Linked DNA regions of Homo sapiens: regions 1, 2, 3, 5 and 6 are each linked to region 4. The links are contacts of gene promoters, found by promoter capture Hi-C in blood cells and fetal thymus (Javierre and others, 2016). All regions are on one chromosome and are shown on one strand. Each heading gives the region's core, a stretch centred on a gene start or on the middle of the fragment in contact. The rest is flanking DNA. Distances are from core to core; before and after follow the strand shown. Region 1 has its middle 7.5 kb from the start of JDP2-AS1. Region 2 holds the start of ACYP1 (acylphosphatase 1). Region 3 overlaps MLH3 (mutL homolog 3). Region 4 holds the start of FOS (Fos proto-oncogene, AP-1 transcription factor subunit). Region 5 has its middle 22 kb from the start of BATF. Region 6 overlaps JDP2 (Jun dimerization protein 2).

Evidence for each region. Contacts are between HindIII fragments. The CHiCAGO score rates a contact against its expected background, and 5 or more counts as called.
Region 1: a contact is called between a fragment that was not itself captured here and the fragment with the promoter of FOS in region 4, in 1 of 17 cell types (monocytes). The highest score is 7.4, in monocytes.
Region 2: a fragment that was not itself captured here is called in contact with the fragment with the promoter of FOS in region 4 in 4 of 17 cell types (monocytes, erythroblasts, activated CD4 T cells and 1 more); the score reaches 9.1 in monocytes.
Region 3: a fragment that was not itself captured here is called in contact with the fragment with the promoter of FOS in region 4 in 1 of 17 cell types (monocytes); the score reaches 5.1 in monocytes.
Region 5: a contact is called between a fragment that was not itself captured here and the fragment with the promoter of FOS in region 4, in 4 of 17 cell types (activated CD4 T cells, monocytes, neutrophils and 1 more). The highest score is 8.0, in activated CD4 T cells.
Region 6: a fragment that was not itself captured here is called in contact with the fragment with the promoter of FOS in region 4 in 1 of 17 cell types (monocytes); the score reaches 7.8 in monocytes.

The regions. Positions count from the first base shown.
Region 1 is chr14:75,418,675-75,421,657 of GRCh38, forward strand. No RefSeq gene overlaps it. Among named protein-coding and RNA genes, the nearest start is that of JDP2-AS1, 7.5 kb to the right of the region's middle. RefSeq lists an enhancer at 533-582. The HindIII fragment of the contact is 4,896 bases long and covers 1-2,983 here.
Region 2 is chr14:75,063,559-75,066,495 of GRCh38, forward strand. It overlaps ACYP1 (acylphosphatase 1), which reads right to left and starts at 466. Exons shown (of 3, transcript NM_001107.5): 1 at 396-466; 2 at 1-3. RefSeq lists an enhancer at 637-806. The HindIII fragment of the contact is 1,854 bases long and covers 615-2,468 here.
Region 3 is chr14:75,046,942-75,049,749 of GRCh38, forward strand. MLH3 (mutL homolog 3) reads right to left here. Exons shown (of 13, transcript NM_001040108.2): 2 at 1-2,777. The coding sequence starts at 2,714. Among named protein-coding and RNA genes, the nearest start is that of MLH3, 3.1 kb to the right of the region's middle. The HindIII fragment of the contact is 1,843 bases long and covers 476-2,318 here.
Region 4 is chr14:75,277,576-75,280,372 of GRCh38, forward strand. FOS (Fos proto-oncogene, AP-1 transcription factor subunit) reads left to right here and starts at 1,253. Exons shown (of 4, transcript NM_005252.4): 1 at 1,253-1,548; 2 at 2,302-2,553. The coding sequence starts at 1,408. RefSeq lists silencers at 655-744, 1,095-1,154 and enhancers at 1,243-2,170, 1,525-1,584, 2,171-2,797. The HindIII fragment of the contact is 6,704 bases long and covers 1-2,797 here.
Region 5 is chr14:75,499,393-75,502,262 of GRCh38, forward strand. No RefSeq gene overlaps it. Among named protein-coding and RNA genes, the nearest start is that of BATF, 22 kb to the right of the region's middle. The HindIII fragment of the contact is 4,882 bases long and covers 1-2,870 here.
Region 6 is chr14:75,437,966-75,440,893 of GRCh38, forward strand. JDP2 (Jun dimerization protein 2) reads left to right here. Exons shown (of 4, transcript NM_001135048.2): 2 at 1-156. Among named protein-coding and RNA genes, the nearest start is that of JDP2, 11 kb to the left of the region's middle. RefSeq lists enhancers at 989-1,491, 2,331-2,540, 2,695-2,928 and a silencer at 2,731-2,780. The HindIII fragment of the contact is 3,402 bases long and covers 1-2,928 here.

The DNA of each region.
Region 1 (2,983 bases), core at 137-2,636, 140 kb after region 4:
TTTCCGACAAAGGGAGGAAGGCTGGTTCCAATGGTTTTTATTTATTTATTTTTAACTATTATTTTTTAATTTTTCTTTTCAAGTTTCCAATGATCCAATTGTTTTTCTACCTGTCTCTTAACACCTCTCAAAACTCCCTTTTATGCTTATAATTATTTAGTTAATTAGCTAATTATTCATCCACCTAAGGACTGGGCCAGTCTTTCTCATCATTTCATGATGCTGTGAGCCCTGCACATAGAAATAATCAAATATTTATTGAATGAATGAATGAATGAATGACTGAATGAAGGAATGAATAAAAATCCAACTCTGTGGTCTGAAATATACTCTCGTACACGGCAGGGCACAAACATAACAAGCTGGCATTTGAGGAAGTATTTGAAAGGAAAGGCTGGCTTTAAAAAGGAGGAAGGAGAGGATTAGGAAGGTGTATTTAAGAGATAGAGAAACGCTGGCGGGAGGAGATGGGTGGGGGAATCGTGGGCACAAAACCTGAAAGGAAGCCTGTGAACCTGGCCAGGGCTACCAAAGAAGCCCTTGTCCCAAGGTCCCCTCCAGAGGCCTTCTGACCGCCCTCAGCGCCCACCTCCCACCTCCAGCTCACCCCTGAGGCCAGCGCAGAGGTGTCTCCTCTTACAGGAGTGCATTCTAATTGCAAAATCATATCCTCGTTTTTTAAGGAGAGCCAATTCCTCCAGTTCCGAGTGTGGGGGCCTTTTCTGGTCTATGGGGACCTATTCTGGTCTCAGGGGGTGAGTTTCCAGGAGCCCAGGGACTCAGCGGGGAGGGCGGCTCTCTAGAAGGTACACTTTGGCTGACTTAGGGCAGGGTGCTGAGACATGCAGGTGTCAAAACCTGGCCCGGATTGCCTGGAGCTGGAAGAGCCTTCCAAGAAGTGAAAATCCCACCCCTCCCCCGCCTAGGCCCACACAACAGCCCAGTCATAGGGGCCTCCTTGGCTCCTCCCTACACCTCTCTCTACCACACCACCAAATTGTTGAGTGTAAGAGGAAACGCTACCTCCCGCAGAAAACCTAAAGGGACTTTTTTTCCCCTTCAATAAACATTTGCTGAAATAACTTTTTATTGGTGGTTGTTTTAAAATGCATAGCAGAAAAAGAGTCCTGAGAATTATTTCCACCATAACTTTTGTTCAATGAGATCTGTGTCATCAGTGGGGACCTCAATTTCCTCATCTGTAAAATATGGCCTCTTCCTTGCTTTAATATTCTACAAGTTTGTGCTGCATAAGGTGTGACTGATAATTACATCTCTGCTCAACAAGCATCTGTTCAACAAGTATTCTTTAAGTGCCAAGAGCCCAGACTGCTTTCAACATTATCAGGGACACAAAAGAAATGATTTCCTTCCATTTTTATTTAAATAAATGCAATCATATATTTGGCACATTGAGTGCCAAACATAAGCTCAGCACATGGTAGGTGCTATAGGAGTTTAAAAATTTTAAGATACTGTCCCTACTGATAACTTCAAGCATGTTGGAATGATAATGCATATGTGAAATAAGGAGAAAAATTTTAAATGGCATATGATTAGATGTTAGAAGGGAAATGCTAGTTAAGGTCAGAAGAGGGAGAAATCCCTGTGGGTTTGACCCATCTGAGAAGGTGACAAAGTAGGGGACTTGAGCTGACTGAACCATAATGTTGATGGTTATGATGGTGATGGTGGTGGTGGTGACGAACACAGCCAAATGTATTGGGCTTGTGGCAGGTATTGATATGGTGCTTCATAAGATCGTATTTAATCTTCACATAAACCCTCTAATGTAGGCACCATTATTGTCCACATTTAACTGTTGAGGAAACTGAGGCCCAAACTCTTTTTTATTTTTTTTGAGATGGAGTTTCGCTCTTGTGGCCCAGGCTGGAGTGCAATGGCGTGATCTCATCCCACTGCAACCTTCGCCTCCTGGGTTCAAGCTATTCTCCTGCCTCAGCCTCCCGAGTAGCTGAGATTACAGGCACCTGCCACCATGTCTGGCTAATATTTTTGGTATTTTTAGTAGAGATGGGGTTTCACCATGTTGATCAGGCTGGCCTCAAATTCCCGACCTCAGGTGATCCATCCACCCCAGCCTCCAAAAGTGCTGGGATTACAGGTGTGAGCCACCACACCCAGCCCCAAACATTTTATGGAAGAATCTAACCAACCTATATAGCAACATCTTCTGGGAGTGGGAGACGGGGATGAAGAAGAAAGAAAAAAGTGGAGAAGGGTCTTCGGTTTTCCTAGAAGCAGCATTGTGTGAGTGCAAAGTGAAAACATCTTTGTAGTATAATATCTAATGCATGTATTTTCAGATTAAACCCTCTCTTAAAAATAACTTGAGGCCTCTCTAGACTGTACATTTTTATAGCTATAATGTACTCTTTCAGATCTGAGCAAATACCACAAACTCATCTCAGATCTTATCTCTGACAACCTGGTTTGACCTTCATGATAGTTGGGAAGCCTGTGTTAAAGGAGAAGGGATTTGAGGAGACTTGCGATTTTGTGATTGTGCCTTTCTTTCTTTGATCTTCTAGGACACCTTTTGTCTCCTAACTCCTTTATCTCCTAAGACTGAGTTCTAGACTAGCTTCTGTTTATTTATTTATATATTTATTTACTTATTTATTTAAAGCATAGGGTCTTGCTCTGTAGACCAGGCTGGAGTGCAGTGGTGCAATCATAGCTCCCTGCAGCCTCAAACTCCTGGGTTCAGATGAACCTCCTGTCTCAGCTTCCCAAGTCGCTGCAACTACAGGTGTGTGCCACCACACCTGGCTTGTTTTTGTTTTTGTTTTTTGAGACAGGGTCTCACTCTGTCATCCAGTCTGCAGTGCAGTGATAAAATCTTGGTTCACTGCAACCTCCGCCTCCTGGGTTCAAGTGATTCACCCACCTCAGCCTTCCCAGAAGCTGGGATTACAGGTGCGTGGCACAATGCCCAGCTAATTTTTGTATTTTTTGGTAG
Region 2 (2,937 bases), core at 292-2,791, 210 kb before region 4:
AACCTGTCAGAAACCAGGAAAGCAGAAGAGTGAAGGGCTATTATTCCAGGACCCGCAAGCCTGAGTCAGAAAGGGCCACACCCACCCCTGTCCATCCTTAACCATTGCGACCTCTCCCCGACTTCAAGGTCCTGGAAATGGAAACGTGAGTGGATGTGATAAGGTGTGTGTGAAGGAAGAACCAGACGCCGGGAGAGGGAGCTTCGGATCGCAGCTGCCCGCTGAAGCCTCTTCTGGGGAAATAACCTGAGGACCGATGACCTCCTTACATCCATGCCCGGTCCCGCTCCCTCACTACCAGAATTCCCTGCTACTAACTCCCAGAATCCCCTGCTACTAACATTTTAGGGCTAATCGACCTGAGAAGCACACCCTGGGGGCCCCTGGCGGCTCACCCTCCTTGTCTTCCCCACCGGCTGCCAGGATCACTCCGGGACCACCACGCCAACGGCTCACCAAGGCGCGCAAACCTCCGCGCCCGGAAGTTTAGTGTGTAGCTGCTCCTTCGCTGTCGCTCATGCCCATCACCTCCAGCTGACCAATCAGAGACGGCGCCTCGGCCCGGGCCCGCCCAGAAGGTGGGATTTCAGGACGCGGTTGTCCGGCAACCCAAAAGCTTTGGGTTGGGGATCTGTCCAGGAACTCGGCTGGGCCTCCACAAACCTAGCCCTCATCGCATCTCAGTCAACAAGCGCAACCCTCTTCTCATTTTCTCATGAGGAGAAAGGCATAGACGAAGAAGTACATGGGGATACATTCAATCATTCAATTAAATACTGACTGACAGCTACTGTGTGCCAGGCACCTGTTCTAGGTGACCAGGCAAACATCAGTGAACAAAACAGGATCCCTGTCCTGAGGAGCTTAATTCTGGAGGTGAGAGACAAACAGCACACATTAAACATCATAAATAGCTTGTAATCTCAGCACTTTGGGAGGCCGACACGGGCGAATCACTTGAGGTCAGGAGTTCGAGAGCAGCCTGGCCAACATGGTGAAACCCCGTTTCTACCAAAAATACAAAAATTGGCCGGGCATGGTGGCGGGCGCCTGTAATCCCAGCTACTCGGGAGGCTGAGGCAGGAGAATCGCTTGAACCTGGGAGGTGGAGGCTGCAGTGAGCCGAGATTGCCCCACTGCACTCCAGCCTGGGCAACAGAGGGAGACTCTGACTCAAATAAATAAATTAATAAATAAAAAAATAAACATCATAAATATGTTGAGTAGGATACATTTAACCTTTCTGTCCTTTTTCATTCAGTTCTCCTTAAAGTTTGGGTCATAACAATCTGGAATAGGGGATTACGGGGCATAAGTGCACAGGAGGTCCCAATGGAGGTTATGTCTGCTTCTGGGCTTCTGGAAGCTACTCACCGGTCTCCTTTACTAAGAAAATGTCAAATAATGCTTGAACAAATAACCAGCTAACTACACAAATAAAGCAAGAGCACAAGCAAAATAACTCATGGCTCCAGAATTACAGTTGAGTCAGTCAATCTAAGCCAAATGGCCAAACTACACGAATTTATTTTGGGAACAGGGAATTGTCAAGGGGGATGTGGATGAAGATGGTTAAAATTAGAGTTGATGTGTAAACATTTGAATCCAGCTACCCTTATGATTCATGTGTGTGAAGGAAAACTGTGGTGTTTATTGATCCTCTGTGGATTGACTGTATACATTACACCTCTTCATAACGTAAAGACTCCTTATGTGAATATGCCAGGTTGGCAGACTTGACAATGAGATATGGGTTTGTGACAGTAGGCACGGAAATTCATCATTCTGCTAGTTCCCCGCTAGAGTGAGGATCCATATCCTAGAGAATCATACAACCTTAGTGCTGAGAGGTGGGGGGTTGGTGGTGAACAAGCTGGATTGAATGTTGTACTTGGCAATATTTGAAAATAACTCTAAATAGAGTATCTTGCTAATGGTATTTCTTTCTCTAAAATTCATTTAAAAAATAGTTTATAGAATTCAAAACTTACTGAGTGTCTAATACGAATGGGGCACTCTAGGATATACAAAGATGAATGATATAAAATCTTTGCCCTCAAAGAGTTTTTAATTTAGTGTAGGGGCACAAATGCATGCAAATAATGACAATAAAATATATGGCATGATAATTTAATTCCATGAAAATCCATTGAGAGCTCATCAGGAACCAGCCCTGTGCTATAACAAGGACAGAAAATATTACAAAGGAGCAAACAAATTAATTCTGATTGGGAAGACAGGGAAAGAGTTCTTGGAGGAAACAGCATTTAATCCAAGGTCACACAACCAGTAAGTGATGGAGCTGGGATTTGGTTCCAGAGTCAATCCCCATGAATGCTATGCTCTACCAGCTCCCAGTATGTGGAGCTTAGAGTAATGTAGTACCATGGAGATGAAGAAGTACAAGTAGCCAGTTGTGGCTAGACCAGGGGTTTGCTACCCTGCTTGTGCATCAGGATCTTTGGGGAAGCTTTAAAAATGTTAATCCTCAGGCCTCACCCCTAGATATTGCTTTCCAAGTAGTCTTAACACACAGTCAGGGATGAGACTCACTGGGTTGAACTCTGTGGCTTATTAAGGGGAGGCAAAACTGAAAAGGTAGGCTGGACCTAATCTGGGAGGTAGAGATGCCATGCTAAATTATGCATTTCAACTTTATTCTATAGGTAAAGAAGAAGCTACTGGGGAGGGAAATGGTAGGATCAGAAGCATTTAGTAATTAGCTTGATTTAATCACTGCACAATGCATACATTATCAAAACATCACTTTGTACACTGCAAATATAGATATAATTTTTGCTTGTCAATTATATTTTAATAAAGCTGGGGGGGGGTGGAGAAATATTTAGACTGATTATTTTGCCTGCAGCATGAAGGATGGGTTTGAAGAGCAGATATTGAAGGCAAGAGCAGAAGTTAGGAGGGCTATGCCATCCC
Region 3 (2,808 bases), core at 147-2,646, 230 kb before region 4:
CTGGAATCTGAATTTGGAAGTTCATTAAAACGACTCATCATCCCCATTGTTTGAGTTTCTCTTTCGGAACCCTTCAGTCTGGATAATTTAGAGGCTAGTGATTCAGATGACTTCTCAAGGTCCAAAGGTTTTCTATTAAAGAGAGATAACTCCTTCAGGGTCATAGGACTTTCTCTCAAACTAGGCATCTGTTGTTCTAAACAATCTTCATCCTTGGAGAATGGAAACTTCTCTGAGTTAAGGATGTGGCTTGCTGGTTGACAACTACTATCTGAATCACTATGCTCCATAGTAGTGATTTTACAAACATCAGAGTTCTCTAAGCGGTTCTTGTCCTTCAGCAGAATGTCAGGTTCAACTTGAAGACTGAGATTGGTAGTGACTCCATTACTTTCCTCTACTTCTGTATCCAGAGGATTTTCAACCTTCCCATATTGCCTCTTAAACTTCTCTAAAGATCCTAGCTGTGAACTCAAGCTTAGCTTCTTACGGACGATTGGTTTGGAGAAACCAATTAATTTATCTGTTTTCCTACTATCATTGGAAACGTGTCTATACCAGGGGAAAGAGGGGGATGTATCAGATAATATGCAATCTGTTTGTGATTTTTTGCTACCTTCCTGAAAAGCAGAAAACATTGTATAAGTTGCTGTAGGTTCATTCTCTAGCCCATAACTTATATTCGTTCTGCAATTTTTTTTGTTGGGCAATTGACCAGATTCTTTACTTAAAGTGCTGGCTAAATCTTTGATGTCTGGAGTTTCAACTGAATGACGTGTTCTATTTCCAAATGTTTCTTGGGCACGTGTGGGACCAGGTCTAACATAATTTTTAAATGAATGTTCTGTTTCAGTTGATTTAGTTTTTTCATTTTGTACTACATGAGTTATAAAGCCAGTGGAACATAATTTAACTCGCCCATAACTAAAAACATTTCTTCTTCCACAATTGCTAGATTCTTTTTTTTTCTCTTTCTCTGTCTGAGCACTATGTACTCCCCATAATGTTGTTGCAAAAGGCAGAGGCTGGCATCCCACTTCAGTAGCATCTTTAAATCTCTTTGGTTGATTCTGAATTCTATTATTTTTCAAGATGTTGGCAGCCATGCCATTAACAGTAGTACTTTCTTTCCATATTTCTAGATCCTGCCCACTCTCCTCAAAGTGACATGGTGTCTGAAAAGGGCTTAAAAACATTTCTAAACTGGTTCCACACGGATTTTCTAAAGAGCTATGTTCCAGGAAAGATTTTTTATGTTTCTCATTTTCTCCAGCTTCTGATGCTACAATTGTCTCTTGTTCTAACATCTTTGATTCTGAGCAAGAGCTGTCTTTGTTTTGTAAAGATGGCTCTGTCATTTTGCTATGGCCTGGACCACCTGATTCATAAATGTACAAAAATGCATCATTTGTATTTTTTCTGGTAGCTTCTGAATCCCTAGAACTCTGTGTGTTTACGTTTTCTGCAGTAGTTTTTCTTTTCACAGCTTTTGACTGCAAATTAAACATCTCATAGGAATCTAAAATATTATTACATGCTTCCTGGAAATTGCTCCTCTCATCGGAAGTCACACGCTTCTGAAGAGTAGCATCAAATAAACTAAAACCATTATCTTCACTAAATTCCTTAATATCCTCACCTGATAATTCCACAAATAATTTTTCTTGCTTTAAAAACATTTTCACTCCTTCCTGAATGCAAAACAAGAGAGTGTCCCAGTTCTGAAATTCAATCAGAGTTTTGGCTGGCTCCATGCACACATCATACTCACAGAATTGGCACTGCACATTAATTACATATATGCCATAGAGTTCTGGGGTAGACCGGTGCCGAAGACTTGAATTCATTTGCCTACTGGTGGGACCATTCTTTGGCTTGCATATAATACTTTCTTTCCTTAATAAAAAGTCAATGAGTTTATGTAGCTTTGTCCTTAAAACTAGTCTTTTGTTCACAAACAAAAACTGCATATTCTTGTTGTAATGTGCTTCAGAGCTGATATAGCCACTAAGCTCAAACTCTTTATATTTAAAACTTATTTCTCTTAGCTTTTGGGACTTTCCCAATCCATAAATTTGACAAAATCGGGAACATACGTCTTTGGTTTTAGGGAGCTGAAGAACCATGGAACCAGAAACATCATTTCTCAAAGAGAAAGAAATGGAAGGGTGCATGAGTGAGAGAGCTTCTATTCTCTGCCTAACCTTCTCAAACTCCAGTCTAGGGTCCATGCATTTCCTCCTTACAGGAAGCTGGTAAAATAGGTTATACACTGTTACAGTAGTCCCAGCGCTTGCTCTAGTCACATCAGCTTCACAAGCTTTCAGGGCTTTTCCACTCTGAAACAGTTTCACAAAAGTTTTCATTGTCCTGTTTTTCTTGGACGAAATTTCCACAGCACTGGCCATGTCAGCAATATTTGCCAAGGCCTCTCCTCGGAAACCATAAAACCTTGGATTCTCCAAGTCCTGTACCGAGTGGCATTTACTGGTGAAATAACGATTTCCCACTTTCTCTACATCATCACTCCCCATCCCAAATCCATTGTCTATCACTTGAACTTGGAAGGTTTCCATATTCACCCTGACAGCCACACATTTTGCTTCAGCATCAATACTGTTGAGGGCAAGTTCCTCAACACATTGGCCCAAGGAGCTTATGGCCAAACCAGAACGCAATTTGGCTTGTACTTCAACTGACAAGCACTTGATCATGGTAGGTAGAAAGATGGTGAGAATGCCAGGCACTGGTTTCCTTCTCTGACTGGAAATAATTGCCTATTGGAGAAAAAAACCACACACGCACATA
Region 4 (2,797 bases), core at 3-2,502:
CCCGTGTTCCAGGACGTGGAGCCGCTCCTGGGGTCCCAGCAGTCGAGGTATTCCGCCCAGGCGCAGCTGGACACTGTCCTTCCAGCCCCCGTCCTCCACCCTCCAAGTCCGCGCTGGAAAATCACCCGCTGCGGGCTCCCGTAAGCACAGCTTCCTGGCGGGACCGAACCAGCCCTCAGCGCAGATTTGAGTTCCCCGCAGGAAGCACACCCCGCCTTGTCATCCCGAACTGACCACCCTGCCCACATAACCACACCTCGCACTCCCTACCCCTGGGGCCCAGCTCAGAACCGGGCAGACACCCCCTTCAAATGTCTTCGCACGTAGGTTTTGCACAGTGTTTATCTGCTGGTGTCTCAGGGATTTGACAGTTTCCTTAATATTCCCACACATGGCCGAGAAAAATAAATAAATAAATGCGCTGTCTTCTTTAAAAAAATAAATAAATAAAGTACCCAGTATCGTAAAGTAGGTTATCGTATTCTCTTATTTTGGATCCTCCACTTTCTGCTTCCAAACGCAGGAACAGTGCTAGTATTGCTCGAGCCCGAGGGCTGGAGGTTAGGGGATGAAGGTCTGCTTCCACGCTTTGCACTGAATTAGGGCTAGAATTGGGGATGGGGGTAGGGGCGCATTCCTTCGGGAGCCGAGGCTTAAGTCCTCGGGGTCCTGTACTCGATGCCGTTTCTCCTATCTCTGAGCCTCAGAACTGTCTTCAGTTTCCGTACAAGGGTAAAAAGGCGCTCTCTGCCCCATCCCCCCCGACCTCGGGAACAAGGGTCCGCATTGAACCAGGTGCGAATGTTCTCTCTCATTCTGCGCCGTTCCCGCCTCCCCTCCCCCAGCCGCGGCCCCCGCCTCCCCCCGCACTGCACCCTCGGTGTTGGCTGCAGCCCGCGAGCAGTTCCCGTCAATCCCTCCCCCCTTACACAGGATGTCCATATTAGGACATCTGCGTCAGCAGGTTTCCACGGCCTTTCCCTGTAGCCCTGGGGGGAGCCATCCCCGAAACCCCTCATCTTGGGGGGCCCACGAGACCTCTGAGACAGGAACTGCGAAATGCTCACGAGATTAGGACACGCGCCAAGGCGGGGGCAGGGAGCTGCGAGCGCTGGGGACGCAGCCGGGCGGCCGCAGAAGCGCCCAGGCCCGCGCGCCACCCCTCTGGCGCCACCGTGGTTGAGCCCGTGACGTTTACACTCATTCATAAAACGCTTGTTATAAAAGCAGTGGCTGCGGCGCCTCGTACTCCAACCGCATCTGCAGCGAGCATCTGAGAAGCCAAGACTGAGCCGGCGGCCGCGGCGCAGCGAACGAGCAGTGACCGTGCTCCTACCCAGCTCTGCTCCACAGCGCCCACCTGTCTCCGCCCCTCGGCCCCTCGCCCGGCTTTGCCTAACCGCCACGATGATGTTCTCGGGCTTCAACGCAGACTACGAGGCGTCATCCTCCCGCTGCAGCAGCGCGTCCCCGGCCGGGGATAGCCTCTCTTACTACCACTCACCCGCAGACTCCTTCTCCAGCATGGGCTCGCCTGTCAACGCGCAGGTAAGGCTGGCTTCCCGTCGCCGCGGGGCCGGGGGCTTGGGGTCGCGGAGGAGGAGACACCGGGCGGGACGCTCCAGTAGATGAGTAGGGGGCTCCCTTGTGCCTGGAGGGAGGCTGCCGTGGCCGGAGCGGTGCCGGCTCGGGGGCTCGGGACTTGCTCTGAGCGCACGCACGCTTGCCATAGTAAGAATTGGTTCCCCCTTCGGGAGGCAGGTTCGTTCTGAGCAACCTCTGGTCTGCACTCCAGGACGGATCTCTGACATTAGCTGGAGCAGACGTGTCCCAAGCACAAACTCGCTAACTAGAGCCTGGCTTCTCCGGGGAGGTGGCAGAAAGCGGCAATCCCCCCTCCCCCGGCAGCCTGGAGCACGGAGGAGGGATGAGGGAGGAGGGTGCAGCGGGCGGGTGTGTAAGGCAGTTTCATTGATAAAAAGCGAGTTCATTCTGGAGACTCCGGAGCGGCGCCTGCGTCAGCGCAGACGTCAGGGATATTTATAACAAACCCCCTTTCAAGCAAGTGATGCTGAAGGGATAACGGGAACGCAGCGGCAGGATGGAAGAGACAGGCACTGCGCTGCGGAATGCCTGGGAGGAAAAGGGGGAGACCTTTCATCCAGGATGAGGGACATTTAAGATGAAATGTCCGTGGCAGGATCGTTTCTCTTCACTGCTGCATGCGGCACTGGGAACTCGCCCCACCTGTGTCCGGAACCTGCTCGCTCACGTCGGCTTTCCCCTTCTGTTTTGTTCTAGGACTTCTGCACGGACCTGGCCGTCTCCAGTGCCAACTTCATTCCCACGGTCACTGCCATCTCGACCAGTCCGGACCTGCAGTGGCTGGTGCAGCCCGCCCTCGTCTCCTCCGTGGCCCCATCGCAGACCAGAGCCCCTCACCCTTTCGGAGTCCCCGCCCCCTCCGCTGGGGCTTACTCCAGGGCTGGCGTTGTGAAGACCATGACAGGAGGCCGAGCGCAGAGCATTGGCAGGAGGGGCAAGGTGGAACAGGTGAGGAACTCTAGCGTACTCTTCCTGGGAATGTGGGGGCTGGGTGGGAAGCAGCCCCGGAGATGCAGGAGCCCAGTACAGAGGATGAAGCCACTGATGGGGCTGGCTGCACATCCGTAACTGGGAGCCCTGGCTCCAAGCCCATTCCATCCCAACTCAGACTCTGAGTCTCACCCTAAGAAGTACTCTCATAGTTTCTTCCCTAAGTTTCTTACCGCATGCTTTCAGACTGGGCTCTTCTTTG
Region 5 (2,870 bases), core at 122-2,621, 220 kb after region 4:
CGGTCTTGCTGTGAAATTTTTGGGTAGAGTGAGCTGAACTTTCTGCCTGGACCATCTGTCCTGAACACCATACACAGCAGAAAATGGTCGAGCTTTGTCTGGGTCCAGGACATCCAGGCCAGCAAATGGCGGAGACATCATGCTGAGTAGGGGATACGGAGTTTTCCAACCACATCACAGGAACTTTCCCGGGGCTCAGGGCTCAGCTCTCAGTGTCATTAAGGTAGTTAGAGAATTGACTCTGACGTTGTTCTCTTTGTCTCTGGCTTGAGAGTAGGGACTGTTGGAAGCACTGGGACCTTATTTTGCCCTTGGGGCTGAGCTCTTCACAAAGGAGATGCCTAATGAGGCTTGAAGATGGCGTCTCCCTGAGCTTTTTCAGAGGAATCCAGGAGCAGCGGTGACAACTAAAAGGTAGCGGCAGTGACACCAACACAGCAGACATTTAAGGAGCGGTGACCACGTGCTCAGGCCTAAGCGCTTTCTAGTCATCATCTCATTGAACTCTCCCAACAAAGCGTGTGGCTACTTTTATTATTCCCACTCCACAGATGACGCCTGAGCCTGGGAGAGGCTTTCTCAGAGTCCCACAGCCATTTGTAGAGCTGGGGTTGCCAGGAGTCCCGGGCCCCAGGCTCCAGTCGCTCTTCCCACCATAGGAGCTGGCAGGACTGGGCTTTGGAACCTCACCTCCTACCAGCGTGTTTTTGGAAGTGGCTATTCTTTTAGGTTCTGCTAACCAAGCCAGGACTAAACCAAAAGGAGAACTCACAAAAGGGTAGCCTTAGGATGTTCACTCAAAACTGCAGGGCATACAATGGTAAATAAGTAAATAGGTTTAAATGGTTTTTAAATTTTAATTAAAAAAAAATAAGGCTGGGCATGGTGGCTCACACCTGTAATCCCAGCACTTTGGGAGCCCGAGGTGGGCAGATCACTTGAGGTCAGGAGTTTGAGACCAGCCTGGCTGACATGGTGAAACCCTATCTCTACTAAAAATACAAAAATTGGCCAGGCATGGTGGTGCGCATCTGTAATCCCAGCTACTCAGGAGGCTGAGGCAGAAGAATCGCTTGAACCTGGGAGACAGAGGCCGTAGTGAGCTGTGATCATGCCACTGCACTCCAGCCTGGGTGACAGAGCAAGACTTCGTCTCAAAAAAAAAAAAATTAAAATTAAAAACAAAACTGTAGAGTATTATCTAAGCCTGGTCATCTTATGCTTTCCGGGCAACACTTTCGGATCAGGAATAAGATGTGAGAGTCCAGATTGAATCAGTTTATCTGTTGGAAGGAGATAAAAGGAGAAAGTTTTTCCAAGCAGCTCCTAAGGGGGAGATTTTTTTGTTGTTGTTGCTATTGTTCTTAACTACTATAAAAATGGTTCATGTGTGTGGTAATAAAATTTCAAACAGTTACAAAAGGATAAAGAAAACATAAGTTTTCCACATCTCCCGGCCTACCCCTAGACTGACTCTTTAGACGTAAACATTTAAAATCAGATCTAGGTTTTGTCCTCCTGTGGTTATAGGCAGAATTCTAAAATATGTTTATACTTCTCTCTCTTAGTTTATCTACTTTAAAGATTGTTTGAAAACTCCTTTATACTTTGAATATTGAGGAATTTAACTCAGTTATATTTCACCGCATGTTCTCCCTCCCAATTTTTATTTTTATATTAAGTCTATCGGAATCTTTATAACTTTAAATAATATACTTACATCTCAATTTCTTGGCCCGTCACCTTTTACAGTATGTCTAACTTACAAAGTGTAAGTTCAGGAAAATACACAAGGCAGACTTCCTTCTGCCTTGTAATGGACACTGTGGTGTGGCGTGCTGCCCAGATCCCTTTCAGGACCAAGGCCTTGATTCCCCAACTTTGGGGAGTGCTGGCAGCTAAGAGGTCTCAGCTGAGTCCCTCTCCAAGAATTGCTTTTGGCTGAAGGGAGTTACCTGGAGATTATGTGAGAGATTATGCCACCTCCCAGAGGGCAGCCCATATCCAGTGACTGGTCAGTATGGGTTATGTGTTATAATGGTGTAGCCAGCCTATTGGCCTCAATGGAGCAACTTTGAAGAGCCATCTGCCTCCTCCCAAACTTCTTGCAGCATTGACTGGGGCCTTGTATCTACTCACTCCTCCCCTGCCTGGTCTTGGCTCCCTCAACTCTCACAGGTGATGTTTCTGAGAACACTCTCCAACAACCTCCCTATACCCAAGTCTTAGAGTCTCAGAGTCTGTTCTCTGGGGAACTTATAAATACCTTCTCTGTATCTCCTATTTCTATTTCTGATTATGGTCAGCTAATAAACAATTACTTTTAATTTTTTTTACTGTGAAATATTTCAAACATACAAACAAGAAAATATAATAATAAAATTAAAACCGGAAGAAACACCACTATAAATAACATTGTCATTTTTTATTCTACCATGACTTTATTATATTACTTTACTATAACTTAGTCTTCCATGCTTTATTCAAAGATTGTTCCTAAGAATTGAAAACAGAAGACAGTAATTACAATAATTTTATTGTGTATTCTTTAGTGACAATCTAAATAGTGAGGTTTGACCTGCAGACAAGCAAATGTAATCCTATGCTATTCAAACTGAGCCGCCTAAAGGGAACTGTTGCAAGATCAAATGTCAAATGGATTTTTTTTATTGTTACAATCTACCAATTGCATAAAATTGTATTACATTTTGGTTTGCTTCTTTTTCAAATTACAACTTTCTATATAGATTTTTACTGGAGTCACCTTTGTTTCATCTTGGTGACAAAATAACATAAACTTTTCCTACTATGATCATGTAGCATTTTATCACCCATTTTTAAAAATTTTTGGGGAAAAAAGCAAATCAATC
Region 6 (2,928 bases), core at 22-2,521, 160 kb after region 4:
CTGCCAGGGCTTGGCCCCCTGACCGGGCTCCCCAGCTCGGCCCTGACTGTGGAGGAGCTGAAATACGCTGACATCCGCAACCTCGGGGCCATGATTGCACCCTTGCACTTCCTGGAGGTGAAACTGGGCAAGAGGCCCCAGCCCGTGAAAAGTGAGGTGAGCGAGCCTTTTACCCCTGGCAGATTCCAGGTCTGGCCTTAAACCCACCATGGGACCTTAACCTTGCTGTTCAAAGTGTGGTCTGAGGACCAGTATCATCCGTACCACCCTGGGGTTATCAGAAATGTGGAATCCCAGGCCTCGCCCCAGGCCTTCTGTATCAGAATCTGCATCTTAACAAGATCCCCCAGGGATTCGTGGACGTATTAACACTTGAGAAGCACTGGGCCAGGGGAGGATGTTTAACCTGTCTCTGGTTCTCTGGGGGGCGGTGGAAGAGTGATAATAATGACAGTAATGAATAGTAATATCTTGGCCATCTCTCTGGGGTGGTGGGAGGATTGGGGAGATAATGGGAATGGGAATGTGTACATGTTTTGAAAAGTAGACAAGAGAATGCCAATATTAGGTTATCTTTTAAAATTGTTATCATTAGTCACATCGTGACCTCCACCCCTCTTGGCCCTTTCTGCAGCTGAACCAGGGAACTTGGAGGAAGAGTAGCGTGGCCTCCCTTCCCAAGCAGCTGCCAGAGCTAGGCATGGCCTCGGTCAGCCAGCAGTGTCCGCCTTAGATGGCGTTTGCCCGGGACCCACACGTGGAGCACCCACATGTGGCATTTGCAAGGAATTCCTCCTCAGGTCCCTTGCACCTGCAGCTCTCATGAGCCCTTTTTCTCGGGGCACTGGTGAGCAGCAGCAGTCCCCGGCATGGCTGAGGATCTGTGCAGGGCATGCCCCCGGCGACTTGCCCAGGGCTGGCCGTTTCTCTGAAGGCCTGTCCCAGCAAGGTTCCCAGCAGCGCCGTTTCTTCAGAGGCCTGCCAGAGTAGCTGCCCCCTGGAAAGGAGGAGCCTGTGGTGGGAGGTGGGGAAGAGGCTGGGATCGGGAGGGCGCAGGAAGCAGCTGAGCATCTGGGAATGGTAGCTCTGCTTGGAGGGAGAGTTCACAGGCAAAGATGAGCCTGGGGGGAGCTCGGAGGGCTGAAGTGCTGGAAGTGCTGGAGAGAGGACTTTCTTCGTGGAGAAGGGTGTCTGGGTACCCGTAGGGGAGAGCTGGGGATATTAGGCAACTATCTCTCAGCTCCCCTTCTCCTGATAGGTACCTAAAAACTGCAGAGGACTGCTGGGGGCTTGGCTGTGGTGGCAAACTGGCCGTGGTGGCAAACTGGCCATTTGCAGGCTGGACCTGGCTCTCAGATGTATTTTGTTTGGCCGGCTCAGTGTTTTAAAAGAAACGCGAACCCCCATTTCATTTGAAAATTTTGATTAAAAAATTGTAAGATCTCATCATACACTACCCTGTTCTGGCATGGTAATGGCTAAGTGGGGTGGACAGAGGCACTTCACTGTTTCCTCTTTCCAGTGGGCCACAGGCCCCTGCACCTCCCTGTTATTCGTGATCCTACTTACATTGTTGGTTTTGCTTTTGCTACTACCATCTGCCTTCATTTACCTCTACTGCCTGGTCCCTGTTAGCCATTTGTGCTCAAGACACGTGGATAAGGTCCATCATAGGTGCCTACTAAAGACTGTGGATTACAAGCTGTGAGTTGATGGTGATTACATTCTTCTGAATTGATCTTGTAAGCCAATGTGTCGTTGGGGCACATCCCGGCTTATATAGTGTTCTGTCTTCACGATGGAGGGTCCTTGTCTTTTGGCCCTCTGCTCCTCACCTTCCCAGGTCTGTAACTTGAGAGCATCTGTTTCTGGATCATTCCACAGTAAAATTGCCATTTAGAGCCAGTAGCTGAGCAGTTTCATGGGGGCACTAAGGCTGCGCATGGGGTTGATGAAGAGCCAGGTGTCTTGGGCAGAGGTCGTCAAGCTGGGATTCGCCTGGGGGGCTGAGTTAACACCTCTCTCCTCTGCAAAAGGCACTGGAGGAACTCTTCCCTTTTTTTATTTTTTATTTTTGGAAAAGCCACTTTTATTTGGGTTGGGTATTTTTACATTTTACAGCCACCCCCAAATTGGTGGCATCTGCCCTGTACCCGACAGTGACGTGCTGTCCTCACAGGCACCCACAGACGTGCACCATCCAGGCCGCAAAAATAACAAGCCGTTTTTAGGGCATATTTGCATGTCCTCTCCCTCGCTGTCAGACTGCAGTGTTGTGGGGGCGAAGAGGCAGATGGAGCTGCGAGATTGTACCGATGTAGAGAGATGCCAGCCCTGCACTGCGAACCGACCTCCAAATGCTTCCTAGGTCAGACCCCAGGGGCGGGAAGAGCTAATTCTTGGAGTAACTAAAACCTAAAGCGGGGTGGGGAAAGAAACTTGCAGCTGAAGAATCTATGGTCTGAAGATCTATTTGCATATGGCAAACTGCCTTGAGCGGATTTTCATATTGGCATTTTAGACTAGTAAAAGTTTCTTTAATAATAATCAGATACTAGCTCATTAAGCATTTAATATGTCCCAGGACCTGCACAAAGTGCTTAACATGCATGACTTCATTCATTCCTTATTCAGTCCTGGAGTCCAGGTTACCCCCATAGTAGAGAAGAGTTTGAGGTCTAGGGAGGGGGTTCAGTCACTCAGGGTCACACTGCTGGGAAGTGATAGCGCTGGGGCCTGGTGTGGTGGACGATGGCTGCCGTTACAGCCGGGTCTCACTTGTGCTGAGCTAAGCCCTAGGCACGGTACTAGGTCTCTTTGTGAAGTACCTTGTTTACCCTGCACAAGTACCCTCTGAAGTAACTAGTGTTGTTGCTGTTGTTATACCCACATTACAGATGAGGTCAACAAGGCTGAGGGAGGTCCAAG